Linked DNA regions of Homo sapiens: region 2 is linked to region 1. Evidence: promoter capture Hi-C in 16 types of primary human blood cells and fetal thymus (Javierre and others, 2016). All regions are on one chromosome and are shown on one strand. The core of a region is centred on a gene start or on the middle of the fragment in contact, and the rest is flanking DNA. Distances in the headings are between cores, read along the strand shown.

The links. The method cuts DNA at HindIII sites, captures the fragments that hold promoters and counts their contacts. A CHiCAGO score of 5 or more calls a contact.
Region 2: a contact is called between a fragment that was not itself captured here and the fragment with the promoter of THOC1 in region 1, in 1 of 17 cell types (activated CD4 T cells). The highest score is 10.3, in activated CD4 T cells.

The regions. Positions count from the first base shown.
Region 1 is chr18:266,638-269,460 of GRCh38, reverse strand. THOC1 (THO complex subunit 1) reads left to right here and starts at 1,414. Exons shown (of 21, transcript NM_005131.3): 1 at 1,414-1,495. The coding sequence starts at 1,442. RefSeq lists a silencer at 506-685 and an enhancer at 1,076-1,545. The HindIII fragment of the contact is 5,170 bases long and covers 1-2,823 here.
Region 2 is chr18:80,035,939-80,038,761 of GRCh38, reverse strand. RBFA (ribosome binding factor A) reads right to left here. Exons shown (of 7, transcript NM_024805.3): 2 at 2,052-2,094; 3 at 1,256-1,432; 4 at 145-257. Among named protein-coding and RNA genes, the nearest start is that of RBFA, 2.9 kb to the right of the region's middle. The HindIII fragment of the contact is 4,600 bases long and covers 1-2,823 here.

The DNA of each region.
Region 1 (2,823 bases), core at 165-2,664:
ACTTTGGTATCTTATTGCCATGGAGTCAATTCCGTCAGTCCTATCATCTCCGTTTTTTTTTTTGAAACAGAGTTTCACTCTTGTCGCCCAGGCTGGAGTGCAATGGCACGATCTCCGCTCACTGCAACCTCCGCCTGCCGGGTTCAAACCATTCTCCTGCCTCGGCCTCCTGAGTAGCTGGGATTACAGGTGCGTGCCACCACGCCCGGCTAATTTTTGTATTTTTAGTAGAGACAGCGTTTCACCATGTTTGCCATACCTCAGGTGATCCACTCCTGACCTCAGGTGACCCACCTGCTTCGGCGTCCCAAAGTGCTGGGATTACAGGCGTAAGCCACCGCGCCTGGCCTCTATTTTAACTTTATGGCCAGTCAGCTATCTCCTCTAAATCACAAAAGGGAGAGGGTATAACCAGGTCCGTCTGACCTCCCATCCCGTTATGACTGGGAACTCAGTTGTTAAGATTTTGCTGGTGTCCCCTTGGCCTCACGGGGGTCTGTTCAGTTGTTGGGGGGCTTAGGATTTTAAATTTACAGACTTCGAAGAAGGGAACAAGATACACGTGTGAGGGAATAAGAGGAAGTTACCCGAGTCTGAGTCAGTGCTTCCTTCTCCACCGTGTAACTCCAACTTAGAGTTACTGCCACTCGGCTTCTATCGGCCACGTCTCTCCTGGGAAGGCAGGCAAGGGACGAAATGGAGGGAGACAAGGTTTTCGCTAGGGAAGCCTCGGCCCAGGACGCAGCGCCACCCGTTTTCCAATCAGCGCCGGGCACTGCATTCCTCCTAGGTCTCTTTCTTTCAGTAGAGACCTTTTAATAATAAATACTACTTACATTGCTTTACAGTTCACACTTGCGGTCATTATTTCAGTGGAGCTTTTCAACAGCTCTGTGAGACAGGTATTATTTCTATTTCGGAGCAGAGAGAACAGCGCCCTTGAGCCACAGGGCTCATACATCCGGAGCCTATCACCACTCCGCATCTTAAGCTCCCGGGATGACCGCGGACTGGCGGCCCAGGACCACTGCTCCAGCTGTTTCCCCAGGTAATCCACCTGCCTTGGGTTACCTTTTAGCGCGGCCCAGTTAGCCGCAACCAGCCACCATTTACCCGCTTTCCCCAAACCAGGAAAACCACAGAAACGCATGTGCGCGGCCAGTCTCTTCCACGCCCGGGAACGCAGAGCTTACAGACCAAGGCCGCCCAAGTCCCCTCACCCCAAAGGCTACCCAAGAACCCCGAGTAGGCTGTTTGGCTGACTCAGGCGCCCAACGCCCACCCGAACTGAGTCGCTAGGGAAACTCCCAACTGCCAGCTCGCCCGACCGGTGTTCACAGGCCACTCTAGCCGGGCTCAGAGAGACCGCAGTCTCGTTGCTCCTGGCTTGACGTCATCGGCAGGCGCCGCAGCGCAGTGGCGGGCACGCGCAGCCGAGAAGATGTCTCCGACGCCGCCGCTCTTCAGTTTGCCCGAAGCGCGGACGCGGTTTACGGTGAGCTGTAGAGGGGAGGGTGCAGGCCTGACCCGGCGCTATGCTTTGTCCTCTTCTCCCTGAAATTACTCGAATTTTGCCCTGGGGTAAAGTGAGACAGAGGTGTGTCCGCCTCAGCGTCCGCTCCGGGCCCCGTCGGAGGTTGAGGGGTAGGGAAAGACGCACTACCCGCCTCTTCTTTGTGGGCTGGGCCGTCCGCCTCCGCCCACCCTCCAGCGGGTCCCCGGACTGCGTGCTGGGCGCCTCGGCTCCCCGCTTGGAGTGCCCACCTGCAGACTACTGCTGGTTGGGTCCATCCTCTCAGCTCGTTTAGTGGGGCAGGTGTCTCGAGAAGGGGAAGGGGAGCTGCTGAAGGGGGAGGGTGGGAGTGGTTTCAGTCCAAAGACCTGGCTCCCGCCCTAGCCTTCTGAGCTACCAAGTGCTTGTTCCCGCCGTCTCTTCACCACCCCTTAACCCACCGTGTCTAACTCCTAAGCGATCGATGAGATCCTAAGCGGGAAAAGGCAGATAGATCACCTTGGGAAGGGTAACCAGATGCTATTTTATTCTTGCTCAATGTGGAAGGGTGGTTTTGAGCATTTGGGAAACACTTGACAGATCACTTTCTCATTTAACTATTAGAGTAACACTGTGAAGTAGGCTAAGTTGGTTATTCCTGGTACATGAGGTAGAAGCTGACACCCCCCAAAAAGTTGTGACTTCAGTGGTTTTTCTGACTTTAGACACTCTGTTCTTTTTATGTTGCTCGTCACAGCAACGTAAGTATGAAGAACACTTTTAAGTTGCCTGACTCTATTCGTCTCTAGCATTTGCACCAACATTTCTCAGATATTCGGCTGTGTTTTGGTAGTTATAGGGATGCCAGGATGAAAATTGTGTGAAAGAAAAATTCATCCTTTGTAGTAAGTAGTTTTCTTGTTTGCAGGGTTATATATATATATATATACATATATATACGTATACGTATAATATATATATACACACACACACAGTGTGAGGTTTTTTTTAAATGGATTATATTTTGTGTATGTCATCATAATCATTTTCTTTGTGTGCGTTTTGCTGCAATCTCTGGTGCTTTGAAAGCCTGCTAAGAGTAACTGTTAGGACTATCCAAGATCATATTGGCGGCCGGGCGCAGTGGCTCACGCCTGTAAATGCAGTACTTCGGGAGGCCGAGGCGGGCGGATCACCTGAGGTCAAGAGTTCAAGGCCAGCCTGGCCAACATGGCAAAGCCCCGTCTCTACTAAAAATACGAAAATTAGCCAGGCGTGGTGGTGGGCGCTGTAATCCCATCTACTTGGGAGGCTGAGGCAGGAGAATCGCT
Region 2 (2,823 bases), core at 217-2,716, about 80 Mb before region 1:
ATGAACTTCAAGAAAATGCCTCCAAAATTTTCTTTAAAAGCAAAAATACTCAATGAAAAGTTCAAGTCCACCTACAAGTGAAACAGCTGAGAAATTTAGGGTATGAGCAAAAAGCAAGTACATTCAGAAAGCAAAGGTCATCACCTCATGTGCGCGGCACTTCTCTGCAGGACAGCCTCCATGTGTGCGTTCTGCTCAGCAGAGAGCGTTGTCTTCCAGTACGCTCGGCAGGCTGAGAAGTCTGGAGTCAGGGAAACCTGAGACCCCGCCCCTCCACAGGTCACTTTTTAGCTTACATGGGTTTTCAAGACAAACAACATCCAGGAGATGAAAACGACAGCTGCAGACGCCCCTCCCACCCAAGCCAGGGCTCTGGCATGCTGCTGGAGGCCACCTCCTGCTGCCGCACCATGTCCCCAGGTGAAGTAGGGCCCCAGAAACCAAAACCTCCCTCCTCTCTTCACCAGGACCCGCAAACCAAACCACCTGGTTTGCAGAACCAAACCGGAACCCTGACCCCACGCTTGCCTCACAGCCACTTGCCCTGAGACACTAATCAAAAATGCTCGATGCTGCCTTTTCTCCTTACAACTCACTGAGTGGGTCAGAGGAAGTCATCTCCTGTACCTCTGTACTGAGGTACATGCAGATGCATCCTCTTCCCACGGCAGGCTTAGACCTTCTACTATCTGACAATGTGCCAGGTGCTGTTTGGTCACAGGACTCCCGCCTTGCAGTGAGACATCTGCCTCTGCACAGCACAGACACTCACCATCTGTCTCCAGGGCTCCAATGACCAGACTGAGCATCATTTCTATTTCTGCAACCCAGAACTAAGACTTCATAAGTGCTAAAGTGGCTTTTTTTTTTTTTGAGATGGAGTCTCGCTCTGTCACCCAGGGTGGAGTGCAGAGGCGCGGCCTCAGCTCACTGCAACCTCCGCCTCCTGGGTTCAAGCGATTCTCCTGCCTCAGCCGCCCGAGTAGCTGGGACTACAGGCGCCCGCCACCATGCCCGGCTAAGTTTTTGTATTTTTAGTGGAGATGGGATTTCACTGTGTTAGCCAGGATCGTCTCAATCTCCTGGCCTCGTGATCCGCCCGCCTCAGCCTCCCAAAGTGCTAGGATTACAGGCGTGAGCCACCGCGCCCAGTCTAAAGCGTCTTTTTTTAATTGTCAGGCAAGACTGGGCCAGGTAAAGTAAGTGCCAGGCCTGCTGTCTCAACCCATTTCTTCTCTTTGGCCACACAGCCTACCTTGGAGAGCTCCACGTTAAGGTCATACAGCTCCTGACTCACTTCAGGGGTACACAGCAGGTCTGTCAGTGCCTTATAGAGGAGGCCGTTCAGGGCCCTCAGGCGCGCATGGTCTTCCTTCCTGGTTTTCTTTGAGGTGCTCCTCATGAGGAATTCCAACTTGGATGGTTTGTAAGTCTCCATCAGGAAGAAGAGCACACCCCAAGGGCAGCGTTACAACTCCAAACTCACCAAGTCACACAGCAGGGGCTGGGGGAGGGCTGGATGGGCAACCAGATCAACAGCAGCTATCACTCTCAGCTGCCTCAGCTTTCATTAAGATAAAGTTTTATAAACCGGGATCCTTTTAAATTTTACCTGGTAACCCTCCAAGATTAAAAGTACTGCCAGTAAATATTTTCTCAAAAAAAGTTTTTGTTGAGATATAATTCACATACCATAAAGTTCACCGTGCTAAAGGGAATAATTCAGTAATTTTTTGGAAACGTGATGTATTTATTTTTCAGAATGGGAGCCATATATTGTATAAACTTTTACAGTACACACACACTAAAAACTGAATGGATATTACCATATTATAATTTGATAAAAGATATGACTTTCCAGAAAACATTAATGTCAGTACATTTTTTTTTGAAAAGATCAAAACTCCATGTTGCCAATGGCATCCAGTCGCATCCACATAGACACTATCCCCTCCAATACAGAAATGGAAAGACCTCCAGGTAAGAGTTTTGCCAACTTTTAAACCCTCACTCCCATCAAGATTATAAAGTGGCTCATGGCTTATACTCACCGAGTGAGAACCCAAGGAAGGACTTTCATACCAAACCTTTTTTCTTTGGGGAGAAAATAAGCATTATGTTAGTGATGGCAAAGTCAAAAAGTTACATAAGCTAATTTAAGAGGTTATGATACCATAACTGTTTATAGGGGGCTAAACTTAGATGTTACATTACTGGACATCTTAAAAAATTTCAGAATTTAATTGATAACAACATGGGTTGTGGGGAAGAGGCTGAAGATGGTTTTAATTCAACCTCATAATTTTTACCTAAATTCTACTTCTAGTCCCAAGGTTAGAGAGAGGATCTTAAAAAGACACCTACCAAACTGCACATAAACACTATACGCTAATTGATAAAGATGTTTCCCATGGAAGTTCAAGTAAAGGATTCAGATACTGTTATAGGCATAGACTGAGACTGAACAATTAAGCAAATGGATGGTGGGAGCCACGCTCACCATTGGAGTGCGACTTACAGATCAGCAAGGAGAGGAGGCTAGAATGATCCACACAGTACGTCTGGAGTTGGAGACAGATGGCTATACACGGAAATGTTTATAGGTGCATATTTACACAAGGGTTAGTAGAAACACATATATCCTTTCGTCAGATGAGATGGCCCAAAAGACAGACACCCCAGAAGCAATGAACACACCCAGCACCCATGGTTTCTAATCTCTCTCTCCAATAAAAGGAACGAGGGCTTCTTGGAGAAATGGCTGATTTTAGGGCTGTGGTACGAAACACACAAGATGAGCCTGGAGTATCTTGTAGTGCCAGA